Regions from separate parts of the Homo sapiens genome. Here regions 1, 2, 3, 4, 6 and 7 are each linked to region 5. The links are contacts of gene promoters, found by promoter capture Hi-C in blood cells and fetal thymus (Javierre and others, 2016). All regions are on one chromosome and are shown on one strand. Each heading gives the region's core, a stretch centred on a gene start or on the middle of the fragment in contact. The rest is flanking DNA. Distances are from core to core; before and after follow the strand shown.

The links. The method cuts DNA at HindIII sites, captures the fragments that hold promoters and counts their contacts. A CHiCAGO score of 5 or more calls a contact.
Region 1: a fragment that was not itself captured here is called in contact with the fragment with the promoter of TSPYL4 in region 5 in 5 of 17 cell types (total B cells, fetal thymus, M2 macrophages and 2 more); the score reaches 7.3 in total B cells.
Region 2: a contact is called between a fragment that was not itself captured here and the fragment with the promoter of TSPYL4 in region 5, in 6 of 17 cell types (monocytes, M1 macrophages, naive CD8 T cells and 3 more). The highest score is 7.5, in monocytes.
Region 3: the fragment with the promoter of RSPH4A here is called in contact with the fragment with the promoter of TSPYL4 in region 5 in 4 of 17 cell types (fetal thymus, naive B cells, monocytes and 1 more); the score reaches 9.4 in fetal thymus.
Region 4: a contact is called between a fragment that was not itself captured here and the fragment with the promoter of TSPYL4 in region 5, in 10 of 17 cell types (naive B cells, M0 macrophages, fetal thymus and 7 more). The highest score is 14.4, in naive B cells.
Region 6: a fragment that was not itself captured here is called in contact with the fragment with the promoter of TSPYL4 in region 5 in 1 of 17 cell types (M2 macrophages); the score reaches 5.1 in M2 macrophages.
Region 7: a fragment that was not itself captured here is called in contact with the fragment with the promoter of TSPYL4 in region 5 in 9 of 17 cell types (naive B cells, fetal thymus, total CD4 T cells and 6 more); the score reaches 12.9 in naive B cells.

What each region holds. Positions count from the first base shown.
Region 1 is chr6:116,632,851-116,635,550 of GRCh38, forward strand. RSPH4A (radial spoke head component 4A) reads left to right here. Exons shown (of 6, transcript NM_001010892.3): 6 at 1-135. It overlaps LOC124901386 (a long non-coding RNA gene), which reads right to left and starts at 1,413. Exons shown (of 2, transcript XR_007059721.1): 1 at 955-1,413. The HindIII fragment of the contact is 3,276 bases long and covers 1-2,700 here.
Region 2 is chr6:116,696,025-116,698,724 of GRCh38, forward strand. It overlaps KPNA5 (karyopherin subunit alpha 5), which reads left to right. Exons shown (of 14, transcript NM_001366306.2): 5 at 2,680-2,700. Among named protein-coding and RNA genes, the nearest start is that of KPNA5, 16 kb to the left of the region's middle. The HindIII fragment of the contact is 1,511 bases long and covers 628-2,138 here.
Region 3 is chr6:116,615,125-116,617,824 of GRCh38, forward strand. It overlaps RSPH4A (radial spoke head component 4A), which reads left to right and starts at 1,355. Exons shown (of 6, transcript NM_001010892.3): 1 at 1,355-2,185. The coding sequence starts at 1,500. RefSeq lists enhancers at 1,405-1,504, 1,555-1,674. The HindIII fragment of the contact is 5,584 bases long and covers 1-2,700 here.
Region 4 is chr6:116,655,652-116,658,351 of GRCh38, forward strand. ZUP1 (zinc finger containing ubiquitin peptidase 1) reads right to left here. Exons shown (of 10, transcript NM_145062.3): 5 at 1,033-1,201. Among named protein-coding and RNA genes, the nearest start is that of ZUP1, 12 kb to the right of the region's middle. The HindIII fragment of the contact is 2,964 bases long and covers 1-2,700 here.
Region 5 is chr6:116,252,780-116,255,479 of GRCh38, forward strand. It overlaps TSPYL4 (TSPY like 4), which reads right to left and starts at 1,296. Exons shown (of 1, transcript NM_021648.5): 1 at 1-1,296. The coding sequence starts at 1,229. It also overlaps a transcript of DSE not described here. RefSeq lists enhancers at 868-1,027, 1,438-1,667. The HindIII fragment of the contact is 9,221 bases long and covers 1-2,700 here.
Region 6 is chr6:116,725,692-116,728,391 of GRCh38, forward strand. KPNA5 (karyopherin subunit alpha 5) reads left to right here. Exons shown (of 14, transcript NM_001366306.2): 11 at 60-185; 12 at 804-931. Among named protein-coding and RNA genes, the nearest start is that of FAM162B, 39 kb to the right of the region's middle. The HindIII fragment of the contact is 1,643 bases long and covers 515-2,157 here.
Region 7 is chr6:116,673,850-116,676,549 of GRCh38, forward strand. No RefSeq gene overlaps it. Among named protein-coding and RNA genes, the nearest start is that of KPNA5, 6.0 kb to the right of the region's middle. The HindIII fragment of the contact is 7,093 bases long and covers 1-2,700 here.

The DNA of each region.
Region 1 (2,700 bases), core at 127-2,626, 380 kb after region 5:
CTTGGAAACATCAATACTTTTTAAAGAGTGTCAAGGGGTATGAAGACAAAAAATATTGATAGTCACTAGAGTAATGTATTCTTAACCTTTGTAAGAACTGATCTCAGCATGTATTCTTAAACCTTTGTAATTACCTATGGTGTGGACTGTGATATTGTGTGCAAACACTTTATAGCATATATATTCATTTTTCCTGCTTGAGATAGTATCATAATTCTGTCACCTGCTTAAAACTGTAGGAACACTCAATTTTTTTTTTTCTTTTTTTTTTTTTTTGAGACGGAGTCTCTGTCACCAGGCTAGAGTGCAGTAGTGTGATCTCGGCTCACTGCCACCTCTGCCTCCCGGGTTCAAGTGTTTCTCCTGCCTCAGCCTCCTGAGTAGCTGGGACTACAGGTGCACGCCACTACACCTGGCTTTTTTTGTATTTTTAGTAGAGACGGGGTTTCACTATGTTAGCCAGGCTGGTAAATTTTTAACTCTTTTGTTACTTCTCAAAAAGTCTTCTCAGACTCCTCTTTCATCCTACAGAAATTGATTTGAACTGATTAGGGAAAAATGATTTGCTTTGCACAGATATGGTTAGCTGGAGATAGCCAGAGACTTGACTTATATTTTCTAGCACTACTTCTCTAAAACATTATCTTCCCTCACTAAAAAAGCATTTTTAAGTCCTGTATGTACCAGATATACCTGTGGCTATGACTAAAAACTAGGCACTACTCTTGAAATCATAGAGCTTTCATTGAAGAGAGAACTATAAAAAGGTAAATAGAAATGTAAAATCAATCGCAATTTAGCAAGTATTGTGATACAAATATTACAGGTAACACAGAACAGTGCTTCTCAAATTCTACAGTAAAGGAATTTTGCTAAGTTAAAAAATAATTCCAATCCATTACTGTTGTTTTTTAAAAATAAAATGACACAGCAGTTCTCAATGTCTGTACTTACCTTGCCACAGACCTTCAGTTTGCAGATCACAGATCTGCACCCGGAGTAACACTGTTGTCAAACACAAGGTGCACTGAATTCAGATTTCAGCAAGTCAGGAAGCACTTCTAAGAGCCACCAGGTGGAGTGCTATGGGAGAAGGTTCTTGGTGGCATCAGCTGCATCCTGGCAAAGGACTTTTGGCTGAAAGGAATGAAATTTCAACCGCAAGAAGTGGTGAGAGATGAGCCTGCAGAGGCAAAGAGGGGCTAGAGTGTGTGGAAGTCTGGATTTTACCCATGAACAGTGAAGAGGATTACACTAGAAAGTCACACAAATATTTGTATTTGAGAACATTTTGGCTACAGTGTAGATGGATGAGAGAGAATCCAGATTTGAGACAAGGAGACCAGTTAGGAGGTTATCACATTATCTAGGTAACACAGTGGCTCACACCTGTAATCCCAGCACTTTGGGAGGCCAAGGCGGGTGGATCACCTGAGGTCAGGAGTTCGAGACTAGCCTGGCCAACGTGGCGAAACCTCGTCTCTACTAAAAATACAAACATTAGTCGAGTGTCATGGCGCATGCCTGTAATCCCAGCTACTCGTGAGGCTGATGCAGGAGGACTGCTTGAACCTGGGAGGTAGAGGCTGCAGTGAGCCAAGATTGCGCCATTGGCACTCCAGCCTGGGCAACAAAATGAGACTCCGTCTCAAAAACAAAAACAAATAAACAAAAAAACAAAAAACCCAGGATAACTGCAAGGGGATATAAAGTAGAAAACTGCACCTGGTGGCTGAGGTGGGAGGATCGCTTGAGCCCAGGAGGTCAAGTGAGCTATGATCGTGCCACTGCACTCCAGCCTGCGTGACAGAGCAAGACCATGTTTCAAAAAAAAAAAAAAAGAAAACTGGTTACCAGTCTGAAGGACAGAACATTAGGAAAGATGGTTTCCAGAATTAAATTGGCAATACTATTTCATTCTTGAAGTGCAACTTTCATTCTTTGTTGGCATACCTAAAATTCACAAAACTTCATTCATGTTGGTTGTTATTCATTTTTTCATGACATAGTAGACATGTTCTTTAGTGTTGCTTAATATCCATTTCATTACCTACCCTGATTTCCTTTTGAGGAACTGCCTCTGTCCCATTAAATAGTCTCATGCCAATCAGATGTAGCCTCTCTGGGATCTAAATTATGGGCTCCTAACCAGATTGTTCCTTCTACAAATTAGACCATATTCTAGTTTCCACAGTTGGCTTGGTTCCAGCTAAGTTCTACCCATGGACTGTGAGCTTCTGGTAGTTTTTTGATGAATTACATTGGCCAGGATTCTTGGTTGCAACCACATGTGGCATGTCCAACAAGAAGTGGAAAGTTTCTTTTCTACAGAACACATTAAACACAAGACTCTAAATCACAGTTGTATAGTTAGTATAAACACTTAATCAATGCAAATCCTTCTTTATAGAACTATGCCTGTTAAATATTATTTCTAAGCAGTGAGGAAGAAATTTTACTATATATGTTCTCTAACGGAAGACAGCCAAATAGTTTAATGGTAAGAGTTTGGTTGGAAGTGAGATAGCCTAGGTTCATACCCTGGATCAAGATTTTTCTTGGGCAAATTACTAACCTCTCAGGGCTTTAGCTTGCTTCTTCATGGGCCTAATAATAGTACTTGTCTCACAGAACTATTCTGAAGATTAAACTAAGTAATATATGTAACATACTAAGAGTACCTAACAAAAGTAAGGACCC
Region 2 (2,700 bases), core at 133-2,632, 440 kb after region 5:
TTTTAAGCCTTTATATGTCTAAATACTATATTTCTGATATCTTTGAGCAAGTTGTCTGGGTATCGAATTCTTTGATCAGAAGACTTTGTCCTCATTTACTCTAATTCCTCAAGGTATTCTGTTTCCGTTAAACTGTACTATCTTTCACAGAGACAATTGTGTTCTCTGTTTCTTCTTTGTAATGGAATTATGCTTGCCCAGTTGGACATACAGCAAGGAGTTAATAGATGTTTTCTTTCACTGATTGATGTGAGTTCCTGCCACATCTATCAGGCCTAGAAAAATAATAGATTTACTGTATTTTTATTTGATCTGTCAAAGTAGGAAATATGGGAAAGCAAGCATCTAGAGGCCAGAACTGGAAGCAGAAACAACAGGAAACTTTGCCTCTTTTGCAGGCATTTCTTTATTGTAATTAGTGTTCTTACTGTAGACACTAGGAAGATATGAATATGCCCTGGGTACTGCACAGCCTATCTTAGCTCCAGCTTTTACTCCTCTGACTTAAGTCTGCGACGGTGACCTTTTGTTACATCTTCTATTTATTTCCTTTTCGTGGCCACTCTTGTGGATGTAAATCACAAACCATCCTTTTCTTCAATCCCAGTTTTGTAGAAAGTTCTCCAAAGCTTTTTTCTTTTGCCTGACTCTTGCTTAGTTTTCAGTGCTGAAGGAGATATTCCCCCTATACTACTTATTGCCATAATGACTAAAAGTCTTCTCGGTAGCAGTTTATCACCATTATAAGATTATGTAGACTATCATCCTGTCAATATAATACTAATAGTAGTTCATGATACCTGTTAGATAAGCTGACAATCCAAGTGCACTTTAATTGCTTTCTTTTAGATGAAGATAAATATAAATGTGTTGCTTTTAATTCACCGGGAAGAAACTATATTTGGGTTCTTATGTGTGTGTGTGGGGGGGTATATATCATATCATATCTATATTTAATATATATAGCTGACATTCTCAATGACCACCTCGCCCTACCTACCAACCACAAAACCCTATATTTTCTTCCTTCTCTCTCATCTCTTTCATAAAGAGCAAGACAAAATTTCTGTACATTAAATTTAAAACAAAATAGGATAATATATTTATGATTTGCTTTGGAAATAAAGGAAAAACAAGAAAGTGCAGGTGATAATTGCAACCCTATAATTTTGTTTTGATTTTTTTAAGATGGAAGGTAAAATGATTAAGAATACTTACTGTTTTATCCTGTTGATGTTTTATAACAGTATAAGTTAGGGTCTGGAATTCAGTTTTCCATCTTGAAGAATTGGGGCTTTTCATTTAGAACACCCAAACAAAACTTGATGGGTATAACTTTACTAACTGCAGAAATTTTCTAAATTTTGTCCAAGTTAGAAGAATAGCAAATTTGTAGAAAAATGAAAAGGAAGAAGGAAGTCTGTTTCTAAGTAAATCTTTCTTAACAATTGAGAACAAGGTTTCTAGGATTTGAGCTGACTTAAAACTTAATGAAAACATTTTTCTATATCAAAAAGAATGATTTGTACAGGTGTTTTATGTCCACCATTTGCTTATTCATCCTACTCATCAAACACAGTATGTTAACATTAATATATGAGTTCTTTATGATCAGTAACACAGTCAAATAGAGGAAGTAAGAAGAAAAGGAAGAATCAGAAGTGGAAATGAGTATGCTCTTTTTCATGACTACATGAATAGATAACATAGTAATATACAATTTAGGTGGTGGATGCAGGGCAAGGGAAGGAATAACCATGATGATATAATGAGTTTGATTTTGGGTATGCTGCATTTTGAAAGAAGTGTGAAAATACATTTTAAAAGGTGTTAAAATAAAAATGCATCTTATAGTCACTTAGGAATATGGTCTGAAATCTAGGAAAGGAGAATTCGGTTAAGGTTGTAAGGTCTGTGAATTATCACAAATAGTAATAATATCTGGTACTTGCATTAACAAAAATAGGTACATTTTCTAAGATGAGAATAAACAGGAATAAGACTATCCCAAAAGAACACCAATAGGGAAGTTACTGAAGAACCGTAGAGGGTACGTTTTGCTGAAGCCAAGGTAGAGGAAAGAGTTCTTTATACTTAGATGACCAGTACCTGAAATGTCTTTGTCTGGATTTTATATAAGCTTCCTAGATATTTTATGATTCTCAAAAGCTGTCTGCATTTCATGAAAATTTATCAGTAATTGTAGACAGTCCGTTAACATTTCTGTAAAAAATAATTCACGGACAAAAAAGAATCTTGTTTGACAGACATTAGGTAAATTGTGGTTGATAATGAAGGAGATATGCTTAGAAATTGAGGGTAGTACTATAAAGAATTAGTGGAAACTTAATTCCTCAGTTGGTATTTTGAGTTTTAGACAGAAATAATCAATGTTTTAAAGGTGTGCTCAATAGCCTTCAATTTATGAAATTTAAATGTTTATGTAGGAAATATTTTTAAAATTTCTTGCAGTGAATGAGAAAGCGGAATTTGCAAAATGTACAAAAAACATTGTAATCTGGAGAAAATTTGACTTCAATTACATCTAGCTAAGGGTTTTAATCTTGGGTCAGGGAAACCTAGGAAAGAGTTATTTTATGTGCCCTGTTAATGGACACAGGGACTAGATTGTTTTCTTTTTGTGTCTTTGTAATAACTGAAGTCTTTTTAAATTTTTAGAACCTAATCCACCAATAGATC
Region 3 (2,700 bases), core at 105-2,604, 360 kb after region 5:
CACCTGGCCCTCTGGCTTGTCTTTCAAAGAAAAAAAAAGCCTCCATTACAGCTTGCCAGCTGCAAGGGAGAAATTAAGGGGGAAAAAATGCTAACTTCCTCAACTCTTGCACCAATTACCAAAAAACCCCAGAATTTATTGTTCTAGTTTATCTTAATGTTCTGTTTTTAGAAATCCAAGCATTCTAAATCCCAGACATTTGACTTTAAAGAGTCTCTGTACCAGCAGAAGTTATATTCAACATTTTGTGTGTGTGCACACAGTTTTTATCAAATTATTTTAGTCTGTGATTCCCTCACCACACTGAATGGAGGAGTATTATGTTCTTCCATGAAGTTAGAATTTAGAGCAACATCTTGCTAAATAGAAGCTATATCAATGTAAACTGTCAAATGCCAAGTATTTGTTGGTATATTTAGAAAGAGAAAGAAATACAAAACAATTAACATTAAAGACTTTAATTAATATATGGTTTATAGTTAAGTCCAGATATGGTCCAATCTTCTATACCTTCTTCATATTGGAGACTGTATACTATAAATGAATAGTCATAATCTTGAACTTAAATCATTGCAAAATTATGCATTTACATTTACATTATCAAATAAAAATTATATTATGCCAATATAGTTTAGTGTTAATTTGAATTTCAATTATTAGAAAACGGGTAACCCATGAATTGCCTATTTATAGGTTTTCTGCATTGCCTTCTCAAGTATAATATTCTGCCTAATCACCAGGAGATTCCTTATAAGCAGGAAGAACAAAACTCAGGACTGCTTTGTCTATTCTCCGAGTCTTTAGAGTTGGTTGGTTGTAGCTGATGCACGCTAAATGTGAGGCTTGGGGTCTCCTGGTCAGCACACTGGGGTCCCATTGTTACCTGCACCTCCGAGATTACCAAGGTCAGTCTCTTCCTCCCTCTCTACCCCTCACTCTCCTCTCTCCCTCCCTCCCTTCCTTCCTCCGTTCTTTCCTTCCTTCCTTCTCTCTCTCTCTCACACACACACACCCTCCACACACACGCTTCATGAATACACTGTCCCTCCACTAACGCACGACTCGCTCCTCACAGCACAACTTGGATCAGTCTCAGACCCCTAAAGGTCTCTCGCATGGGGTCGCCATTCTTCCTACTTTGTGCTCAAGGCGCAGGATCTGGAGTTCTCGGTTTCCAAGCAAGACTGGTCGAGTCTAGGTCGGATTGGCTGCGATAGAACGAGGGGCAGGGGTTGTACCGAATCACAAAGCTAGGATTTTCATCTCTCTCTCTCGTTCTCTCTTAGTCTCCGCCCTCGAATCCTGGCAACAGGCGCGGTGAGTTTTTCTGAGAGGAACCCGGCCTGGGGTTGCTATGGAGATAGGACGCAGCAACTCACAGAGCAACCAGGACCCAGAAATCGCTTAAGAGACCGCGGCAAAGTAACTTAACTGAGTTGCCTTCTTCCATATTTTCACGCCCCTTTCATCCAGAACATTTTTTTTCTTGAACTGCTTCCATGGAGGACTCAACCTCCCCGAAGCAAGAAAAAGAAAACCAAGAAGAACTAGGGGAAACAAGGCGGCCATGGGAAGGAAAGACAGCAGCTTCTCCCCAATATTCTGAGCCTGAGTCGTCTGAGCCCTTGGAGGCGAAGCAGGGGCCAGAAACTGGACGCCAGTCCCGAAGCAGCCGTCCTTGGAGCCCGCAGTCTAGAGCCAAGACGCCTCTGGGTGGCCCCGCGGGACCAGAAACATCATCACCTGCTCCTGTCTCTCCGCGGGAGCCCTCTTCCTCTCCTTCTCCCCTGGCTCCGGCCAGACAAGACCTCGCGGCACCACCTCAGTCGGACAGGACCACGAGTGTGATTCCTGAAGCTGGGACACCTTATCCTGATCCTTTGGAACAATCATCTGATAAAAGAGAATCAACTCCTCATCACACAAGCCAGTCAGAAGGAAACACCTTTCAACAGTCTCAGCAACCCAAACCCCACCTGTGTGGACGAAGGGACGTGAGCTATAACAACGCTAAACAGAAAGAGCTGAGATTTGACGTTTTTCAGGAGGAAGACTCAAACAGTGACTATGATTTACAGCAGCCGGCGCCTGGGGGCTCTGAAGTGGCCCCCAGCATGCTTGAGATCACCATTCAGAATGCTAAGGCTTACCTGCTGAAGACTAGCAGCAATTCGGGCTTTAATCTGTAAGTCTCAGAGGGAAAAAAGATAAATGTTTGGCAAAGCAAGAGGGTGTGTGAGTATCTCTGTGTGAGAGTGTGTTTCTGTGGGTGAATCAAAATATATTTGAAAGATTGTGTTAGTAAAAGAGAGTTAATGACATAACTCTGGATCACATGACTCAAAACAGGTCATTAATGGAGATTCTTGTACCTTCTTTTTCTTAACCTTTTTTTTTTTTTGTCCTTTTCCTCCAGCTTCTTTAAAGACCCTAGGCACACAACAAAATAAAACTTAGGAATTATGGAATCTCGGGCTTGAAAAAGACCATAAAGACCATAAAGTCCAAGCATCTCTCCAGGATGCTTGTGAAAAATAATTGTCTACCAGTGAAAGCAATCACGTCTCTCATCTGTAGATGCTATTGCTTGCATGGCTTTTGAGTTCCCAACCCAGGCAGTGCTAGGGTGACCACCATCTCAGTTTGGCTGAGCGCTGAAAGTTCTTTATCCTAAGAAACCCCTTAGTCCTCGCAAACTCG
Region 4 (2,700 bases), core at 99-2,598, 400 kb after region 5:
AGAAAAAAGCCATATTATGGGGCAAGGAAGATTTGATTAGGAATAACCAGCTGTGTAACCTTGCTTTGGCAAAGTCACTGTAACTTCTCTAAGCAACAGTGACCTCATTTGGAATATATAACAGTACAGGAGAGGATGTTTTGAGTTAAATGATACAATGTATATAGAGTTGTTAGTGTCTAAAAATGTACAAACAATAAAATAGCCAATAGCCATTTGTGGCTATCGAGAATTTGAAATGTGGCTGCCCAATTGAGTTGTGCTGTGAAGTAGAAAATACACAATGGATTTTGAAGAATGTATAAACAATGTAAAATGTCTCAGTAATAGTTTTAATGTTGATTACATGTTGAAATAATAATATCATGGATACACTGGTTTAAACTATTTAAATTAACTTCCCCTGTTCCTTTTCACTTTTTTTTGTTTTTTTTTTGTTTTTTTTGAGATGGAGTTTCGCTCTTGTTGCCCAGGCTGGAGTGCAATGGCGCAATCTCGGCTCACCGCAACCTCCGCCTCCCGGGTTCAAGCGATTCTCCTGCCTCAGCCTCCCTAGTAGCTGGGATTACAGGCATGTGCCACCACGCCCAGCTAATTTTGTAATTTTTTTTTAGTAGAGATGGGATTTCTCCATGTTGGTTAGGCTAGTCTCGAACTCCCGACCTCAGGTGATCCGCCTGTCTCAGCCTCCCAAAGTGCTGGGATTACAGGCATGAGCCACCGCGCCCAGCCTCCTTTTCACTTTTGTTAATGTGGAGCCAGGAAATTTAAAATTATATATGTGGCTCACATTATATTTCTCTTAGCACTCTCTAGAGCATAGCTTTTTAAATGTCAAGTAACATAATATAAAAGTAAATTTTTAAGTGAATTATTTATCATAAAAATAATTCAGAAGTTTTAAAACAATACATTTTTAAAAAAATATTTGTGCACAGATTATGAAAATTAAGCAAAATTAAAATGATTCTGATTATTACTTCAGTGGTATAAGCAATATTAAAACAATGACTCTGATGTTTAAATACTCACCGGAAGTTTTTGTTTTTCCATCGTCAAAACCAAGAGCTAATGATTCCATCATATCAGCTTTTCTCCTATGAAATTCAGATGGAGGCATTCTTCCCCTATTTACTTCTATCTCCATATTTCGTAGTTGTTGTTGTTTGTATCCTCCAGAATTATCTAAACCATATTGTCTCTATTGAACATAAAAATAAATGACTTAATTTTTACATCCCTGTAACTCTATGAGGATGGAAACTTATTAAAATTTTATTTGGAAACATGTTGAAACATTCTGGTTTATAGACTTTATACAAGTTAACTTAAAGATTTTTACAAAAACTAATAACACACACACACACACACACAAAAAAAAATTATTGACTTAATAAGCAACCACTTCTTTATAATCAATCTCCAGGGCAAGAGACTTGCTTTTCCTGTAGTAGGGAAAGCAGAGGATCCTGTCTTTCTACCTCAGGTATTGGGAGATGCAGAAGAGTTCTGAATGCATTGCTGATTTTTTCAAGGAAACTTGTCAGTCCTTGTTATTTGGTTCCCAGTCTAGTCCATAAAGGCCTACTTAATCCATAATTCATTTAGTCAGTCATGTTACACAGTAAATGAACTATGTTTTGTACACTGGACAGAAATCTCAAATAGTATGTATAAAACTATGGAAAAATTGTCTATGGAAAAGTTTTCACGGAAACTTTTCTACAGAAAAATTTTCTGAGATCTAAACAACTAACTTGCAAAATTACATAACCTCCTTAAATATTGGAAACTTTTTGTATTGATCATGTTTTAAATTACATAAGGCATAAAAGTCTTAAGAAAAGCCAATTTTCTTTCCTATTTTGCAAGTATTGTGAGTCACCAGTGAGAAAAAAATCCTACATTAGGTCTTCCAAAGCACATTCTAAGCAACAATACTCATGTGAGATGTCTGAGAAAAAAAGAGAGGTCAAACAAGTCTGGGGAAATTGTGATATGTACATGCACATTAGTATATTAAAGGCTTTGAGAAGTCCCAAAGTATACAAACCTGTTTAACTGAACACTTTCAAACCTATTCAACTGTAAACCCTTTTTATGTATGCACTATCCTATCATCACTAAAAAAAGAACATTTAAAAACTATAAGCAATAGGCCAGGCACGGTGGCTCATGCCTATAATCCCAGCACTTTGGGAGGCCAAGGCAGGTGGATCACCTGAGTTTAGGAGTTCAAGACCAGTTTGGCCAACACGGTGAAACCCTGTCTCTACTAATAATACAAAAAAATGAGCCAGGCATGGTGGTGCACACCTGTAATCCCAGCTACTTGGGAGGCTGAGGCAGGAGAATCACTTGACCCTAGAAGGCGGAGGTTGCAGTGAACCAAGATTGCACCATTGCATTCCAGCCTGGGCGACAAGAGTGAAACTCCGTCTCAAACAAACAAACAAACAACAACAACAAAATCTATGAATCTATGAGCATTATTAGCACAGATAACACTACAGTCTACAAATTAGGACTGAAAAAAGGAAAAACAGACATTAAAATTTTAAATGCATTAAAAATATAACAGATGCTACCAGTTTAGTCCAACAGGTAAAACCACCCACCTAAGATAAATGAAGCCTCAAATATCATTTAAAAAAAGCATTTTCCCATAAAATAGTTGTAAATGTTTGAAATTGCAATCTG
Region 5 (2,700 bases), core at 46-2,545:
CTGAAGGATCTGGCGCTCTCCACTGGCTGCCTTGGTGGGCCTCGAATTCCTCTACGGGGCCCTTCACCCATCAGGTAGTATTGTAGGGGATTGGGCCACAGTTCTCCTTTGATAATCTCTGCAATTCTGTCGAATTCTAGAAGGCTGTGGTCTGAAAACCAGTTGAAGAAACTAGGGATAGTGTTCCCTTCCCGGTTTCTGTGGATATGAGCCTGGGGGTCTTGGCCTCGGTGCCAGCGGATTGGAGTGGAAAGAGACACCACCCGGCCAGAGGATCTGCGTTCATATTCCTTGACAAGCCCCTCATTTCGGAAGTAGGGGTTGCCCTGAAAGATGAACTTGAATTTGCAGCCTGCTCTGGGGTGTTTAAGCTCCTCCACCTCCAAATTGATCATGTACCTCAGCATGTCTTCATCTTGGCCACTGATCATAGGTGACAGCTGGGGGTGGTTTCGAAAGGCAGTAACCCAGAAACCTGGGATATTCTGGATAATGAAACTTCTGCGCTGCATGTGGAGCCTTCGCATGCGGCCAAACTTGCGCTCAAGCTGAAGGAAGGCCCTGTCAGCCTGGGCATTTACGTTTGACAACTCTTGATCGATGGCCTCCAGTGAGTCCATGCAGTTATTGATCTTCGGGGCCCTGGGCCGTGTCTCCTCTTTCACCCCTCCTGCCACCTTTTTTTCCTTCTGCACTACCTTCTTTTCCTCCATCGCCGCCCCTGCTTCTCCCTCCTTTTCCACTGCTGCCGAGATGGCGCGTTTTTTAGTCGTCACTTCCTTGGCCTTCTTCCCCGGTATCATCTGAGACCCCAAGCCCCCTGCGCCACAGGCTTCTAGAGCCTTCTGCCCAGCAGGGCCACGGGGCTCTCCAAGCTGACAGCCATTTTTCTGGCTGCTGTCAGCAGCCTCGGCGGCAGAGGCTGCTTCCAGACCTTTCGTAGAAGGTGGAGCATCCTCCTGCCCGGCTTTGGTCGCTGCACCGCCGCGACTCCCGGCAACTGGGACGCGGAGCGCGGGGCCACAGTCGACAGGATCCTGGGATGCACCCCCCTCCGCAACGGTCTCCAGGCTGCCCCCACCTGTGTTCGCCATCACCTGTGTCGCCTCGGTTTCTTCACGGAGCCCTTGGCACTGGTCTCGGTCCGGATCTCCTGAGGCATGGTCGGGAGCAGCCAGGCCGCCGGTTTGGGCGAGAGGGAGCTTGTTGCCCCCATCCAGGCCGCTCATTTTGGAAGAAGTCAGACTAGTGGGAGAGGGAGAGTTCCTTGTCCTCCGCAGCGGCCGAGCTCTGCCCGAAACGTCTAGCACCACCCCTCCTTTACTCTCGGCGGTGCTACCATGGCAACTGGTGATGTCAGGGCGGTAGCGTCGTAACATCGCGCGAGAACTCTCTGCGCGGTTGACTACGCTTATCAATCCATCGTATTCCTTTGTCTTCTTGTCACAAAAAGAATTTCGTCAGTCTGGAAGGGGAGTTTTACTTACGTAAATGGATGTAGACCAGACTCAAGCATGTAAGAACTGTGTTAATGTGGATTTCTAAGCCTCTGAATGAATTTCTAAGGCACCTAACCTATTGTTTCTGAAAATATTTACTTTAAGGTGAGTTACTGTCTATTCAAGTCAGTTCATAGGGCTTCTCCTGAGTAGGAAAGTGGATTCACGAACTCACAGGCCTTCCTTCTTTTAAGGTGTGGATTCATGGCTATTACCAAAGAATTTAAATGAGCAGAGTTTGATTTTAAAGAGAAGTGTTGCTGTGTTGTTATTTTTAAAATTAAGGAGCAGCTGAAAGGCAAACTTCTCTCATCCTAACAAGACATAATAAAGGAATATTTCAATTTGTCTTACAGATTTTAAAGTTTATATAATTTGGCCAACATCTACAAAACAAGTGGACAATATTTCCTCTTCACTTTTAACAAAGAGTAGCAAAATGTTTTTCCTTACGTAGAGGTGACTGGCACACGAGCACAAATTTAGGCTTTTAAGCATTACTGAAAGAAATATCTCAGGGGATTTTAATTTCTAAACTGATGCATATGTTCTTTTCCTCAGGTTACAATCTTAATCTAAAAGTGGTTCCTGCTTCATAATGCCTGTGGACATGAAGCTAACAAATCTTTTCAAAATGTGTTCATGTGGTAATTCACTGCAGCACAGGAGCAATAATCAGCTATGTGCAGGCATCTATGCTACTGTCTCTTAAAATACTTTAAAAGTAAGGTTAGTTATTGTCTATTCGAGTCAGTTAGCTCTTACAATTCATTTGATAGTGATTATCAGTACAATATATTAGTTTGTTGGAGTGTGAGAATAATGGTGTTAATCCTTAGAAAAATGCAAGACCAAAGGGAAATTTAAATTTTGCATATTTATGTTTAATGTCAAATTTATATTCAAATAAACGGTTATGATTATAACTCTTTGTAAAAGAAACTCCATTTTAAGCCCCCCAGATTATGATCACTTTCAAATACAGGCTCAGAAGTACAGATTTAGAGAAAAAGGATTCCTCTTAGAGGAATACATCATATATACTGAGACTTCTAGCGAGGGAAGGAGTGTAGTTCTGGTTCAACTAAGATAAAGTACTGATGAAAGGTCACTGGCAGACAATACGGAGAAACAGCCTGCCTTGCAGGATTTTTTGTATGCCTAGTCAGCCTACCCAAGGACAATGTGTCCAGAATGACCT
Region 6 (2,700 bases), core at 86-2,585, 470 kb after region 5:
GATTTTCATATAGGTTATTTACTATAAAACTTTTTGTTTCCATTTCTAACTTGTTTTAGGTAATTTTGAATTGTTCTGCATTACCCTGTCTCTTACATTTATTGAGTAGCCCAAAGGAGTCAATTAGAAAAGAAGCCTGCTGGACTGTTTCTAACATCACTGCTGGAAATAGAGCTCAGATTCAGGTAACTACCCTTCAGATCTGAGAGTAGAACAGCAAGGTCTAAGAAGCCAGTTTGGACAAAAGTTAACACTTTTACTAAAAAAGATTCCTTTTTAAAAAGATACCGAAAAAGTATTTTAAAGAACATGGGCTTTCCTCCTCTAAAATAATAACATTTACTTGTAGTATTCTAGTGAAGAACATCAAGTGTGTGTGTGTGTGTGTGTGTCTAGCACAGTGCCTGACACATAATGGTTTGTCTTTAGAAAGATATTTTTTTGCATTAGTTTTAAATAAGTTATGCAATAATCTTCCTCTCAAAGCTTTTAATGATTTATTAGGGTTCTATCAAGCTTCTTGTGTCAGTGATTACTTATCCATTTTGATCAGTCACATGGCTTGTGCTTTATCATCTCTAAAATTTATATTTTGCTATTCTCCAGTCTTTAAAAAGCTAATTTCCTATGTAAAAAGAAAAATATTTGAAAAGTTTGCTGACAGAATAGAAATTAAAAATTTATTTTAATGTCAAGGTTCCAAAAACCTTGACATTTTGAAGCCATTGAGTTTCAAGATTTTTTTTACTGGTAATATTTTAGAAACAGTATTTGTACTGATTATATATTTTTCCCCCTCTCAGGCTGTTATAGATGCAAATATTTTTCCTGTTTTGATTGAGATTCTTCAGAAAGCAGAGTTTCGTACCAGAAAAGAAGCAGCTTGGGCTATAACTAATGCAACATCAGGAGGTACTCCAGAGCAAATAAGGTATGATATAAACTTCTTAATTGTTTTTTACATGTAAATGAGACAAAAGTTGAAATAAAACATATTTTAATTTACTGATGGAACTAAAATATTATTTCTAAGTCAGTTTGATAATATGAAATGACAGCATGTATTATATCAGTTACTCATTCACAATTTTTTTTTCCCCATTTAACGTGTAATTAACATCATTCTCCTTGATAGGCTGCTTAAGAAAAATCAGAGATTAAAAAATCCAAACGGGAACGGTCTATGTTAATTTGCAGAGTACACTGTCATGGGCATTAAATATTTTTTAATCACAAAAATATAGCTTTATTATATAGAAATGGCTAATAAATTTGAATATCCACTTACTTTAAATAAAATTGAAATAGACATTGTTTATATGGTGATGTTCTGGTCCTCATTGATTGTTAGCCTTGCCTATGGATAGTATCTTTTATTTTTCTATACTAGTTACCTTTTTTTTATATTAGCTTTTTGAGTCTAGGCTTTTTAAATTTATTTATTCTGCTGACAATGTAAATAATAGGTGCATGGGCTTTTAAGTCAGCCTGATTTCAAATCCTGCTCCTTCAGTAAAAGTTGTGTGGTCTTGACAAAGTCATTTAACCCCTCTAATCTAGTTTCTTCATTTTAAAAAATGAGTTCCAGTAATGAATAGTTATGGCAGTGTAAGTCAGCCTTCCATATCCTTGGGTTTTGCATCTGTGGATTCAACCACCTGCAGGTCAAAAATATTAAAAAAGAAAAAGACAGTAAAAAATGCCAGTACAACACTACAAAATAATGCAAATTTAAAAACACAATACAACAATTAGTAACATCATAGCAATTACATTGTTTTAGGTATTATAAGTAATCTAAAGATAATTTCAAATACTTGGAAAGATATGCATAGGTTGTATGCAAATACTATGCCATTTTATATAAAGGAATTGAGCATCTGTGGATTTTGGTATTGAGAGGAAGGGTGTCTTGGAACCAATCTCCGATGAAACCGAGGGACTGTATCTTGATAGTTAAGTGAAATTTATGTCTTTGAAGTGTCAGCACAGTGCCTAAACATATTATTAATAACTAATAGATAATTAAGAATAGCTACTGTTATTATTTGTAATCATCATAATTTTTATTATCAGTATTGATTCCTGAATCTTTTATCATGTACTTTCACTCTTTTTTATCTCCCATAGCAAAGTTTCACTTACACCTCTACTAAAAGCTTCTACAGAATCGTCTTGTTCGGAGGATCCCTCCATGAAACTAGACTTCTTAGAAAATATTTTCTAATGCATATTTGATTTATTTTTCAATTTATAAAACAAGTCAAACTACAGTGCTATTTTATAAATCACATAATTTTGAAATCTACCTATTGTGAAATTGTCGTCTTTTATTGCCTTCATTTGTAGTATTATCTTGCTCTCTCAAATTTGTATAGCTGTATATTGCTAGCATCTGTCTCTGCCTTTTATTTTCTATTCTATCTCTTTGCTTTCATCAGTATTTCCACTTTGTGTCATGGATACAAGCAGTAATAAATGAAGACCCTTCCTTTGTTCTATTTTGTATTTTTTTAATGTTGATGTTACTTTTATTTTATTTGGGCTGCAAGTTTGTTCACCTGCAAATAGTTGTATTTTTTCAATTAATTTTTGTGGTTATATCTATTCTGTATATTATTGCTTTAATTTATTAGTATGGATTAAGTATCCAAACTGAGATAATTATTTTTCTAACCACTTTTATCATTTCATTAAGTT
Region 7 (2,700 bases), core at 35-2,534, 420 kb after region 5:
AGCTCCCACCAAAATGAGGGAAGAAGCAAAGAAAGTGGAAGGTATGGGGCCGGGCATGGTGGCTCACACCTGTAATCCTAGCACTTTGGGAGGCCGAGGCAGGCGGATTGCTTGAGCTTAGGAGTTTGAGACCAGCCTGGGCAATATGGTGAAACCCCGTCACTACCAAAAATACAAAAAATTATCCGGACGTGGTGACGTGTGCCTGTGGTCCTAGTTACTGAGGAGGCTGAGGTTGGAGGATCATTTGAGCCCAGAAGGCAGAGGTTGCAGTGATCCGAGATCACACCACTGCACTCTAGCCTGGGTGACAGATTGAGACCCCATCTCAAAAAAAAAAAAAAAAAAAAAAGAAAAGAAAAGAAAAGAAAAGAAAAAAAGAAAGTAGAACGTATGGAATTCCATAAAAAACTCTACCAAGATGAGAGAGAACAGACAGGAATGAAGGCAGAAAGGAAGAAAAAGAAAGGGAGGGAGGGAGGAAAGAGGCAACTGACAGATCACTTCATGTTTATGACCATACTGAGAGAAATATATTCTGTTAAGCAGAATAGTGTCCCTCAAAGATGTTTATGTCCTGGCCAGGCATGGTGGCTCACACGTGTAATCCCAGCACTTTGAAAGGCCAAGGTGGGAGGATTGTTTAAGGCTAGGAGTTGGTGACTAGCCTGGCCAACATAGTGAGACCCGCCCCCCCCGTCTCTAATATTAAATTTTTTTAAAAGATTCTATTTCCTTATTAACAGAACCTGTGAATATCTTACTTTTCATGGCAAAAGGAATTTGTAGATGTGATTAAGGATCTTGACAAGAGGGGTTTATCTAGGTAGGCACAATGTAATCACAAGGGTCCTCATGAGAGGGAGACAGATAGGAAGGTCAGTCTTAGAAAAGGAGATGCGATAACAGAAACAGAGGTCAGAGAGATGTAATTGCTGAAAGGGGTCCAGAAGCCAAGGAATGTAGGTAGCTTCAAGGAACTGGAAAAGGCAAGGAAATGGATTCTCCCCTATAGGCTCCAGAAGAAACACAACTTTGCTGACACCTTGATTTTAGCCCAGTGAGACCCATTTTGGACTTCTGACCTCTAAAAGTGTAAGATAATACATTTATGTTATTTTAAGTCAGCAAGTTTGTGGTAATTGGTTAGAGCAGCAACAGGAAACTAATACAGATCTCCAGCAGTGTGTTTGAAGATGAGTTAGTGATGAGTAGTTAGAAAATTAAGCAAATGATAATGACAGAAAACAGGCAATTAATTTTAGAACAATAAAAAACTATACAAGGAATGTAATTTTTACATAAAAATTTAAATATTGATTTAACCAAAATAATTTTGATAGAACTATATTGGAGGATGTGCGATCAGGAAGTATGTGTAAATGTGTATGTTGGGAGGTTAGTGCAGTTATGAGTAATAAATTCTCATTTTACATCTATAACAATAGAAAATGTCTATGACTTTACAAATTAAGAAATAGCAGTGTATGATTTTAAAATATTTAATTAGAAAAGAGATACCAATAAGAATACCTAAACAAGTTGAAAATAGTAGCTTCTGGGGAGCGGCATCTGGGGATGGTCAGGTGGGAAGTGTTAATTTTCACGATAAACTTATTATTGGACCCTTTAAATGATATATTTGTATTATTTGATTACAATAAATAAAAATTTAATTGTAAATTACTACACCTTCTGGACAGGGAATAGATTATAAAGGAGTCAAGGTAGATACAGATTGCTTAATTAGGATACTACTGCAGTTTATGAAATAAATGATGGAATGCTAGAAGAAGTGTCAGTAGAGATGGACTAGGTGTAGATGTGGACTATTTTGGAGCTAGAAGCGAAAGACAGGAGGCACTGGTAAGGGCAAGGTAAAGAATGATTCATAAGTTTTTTAACTGGAGTTTCTGGCTGCGTAGTTGTATCATTACAGAGATAAAGAGGCCTGAGAAAGAAATAAAGTGGAATGGGATAGAATAAAAAAATCTGTTTTGGCTTATTAAATTTGAGATGCCCATCAGACATCCAAATGGAGGTTTGATATATGAGTTTAGACCTCCAGGAAGAGGTCAGGGATGGAAATTTGAATTTGGGAGAAAGTGGTTTATAGGTAGATGGCTTTTAAAAATACAGGAGTATGTTGTATCACCTAGAGAGGCAATGCAGCAAAGTAAGAGGCCTGGCGCCAACATTTATAGGTTGCTTAAAGGAGGAAGACTAAATAAGGAGGATGAGAAAGAAGAGGCATGAAGCTGAAAGAAGGCCATTCATTTCTTTATCTTTGGAAAACTGAAAAAGTATGTGTGGTAGAACCTTTGGTACACTGCCCAAGTTCTGGTTCAGGACTAAAGGATTTTCTTCCCCCAATGATGAGGGCTCTAGGCCAAGTTCCACTTCAGAAACTGCACTCTGGTCAAAGGGAGCTGCTGCCTCACCCAAGATTAACCCTCCTCTCTGGATTTGATTCAGTGATATCCAAAGACTTCTTGATTCAGTGATAGAAACATGAGCCTCTAGCCTCAACAGTGACAATTCTGAAGGGCCATCCCAGCTTCTGCACTTCCTATAAGATTGTCTGAAGTCTCTGTTGCTAATAATGCAACATAATTTATCTCTCTGTAGAATCCTGCTTCCTCACTCCTGTTATTATTCCCAAAGAGCACTCTGCAATAAATATCAGGTGGCAAATCTTGA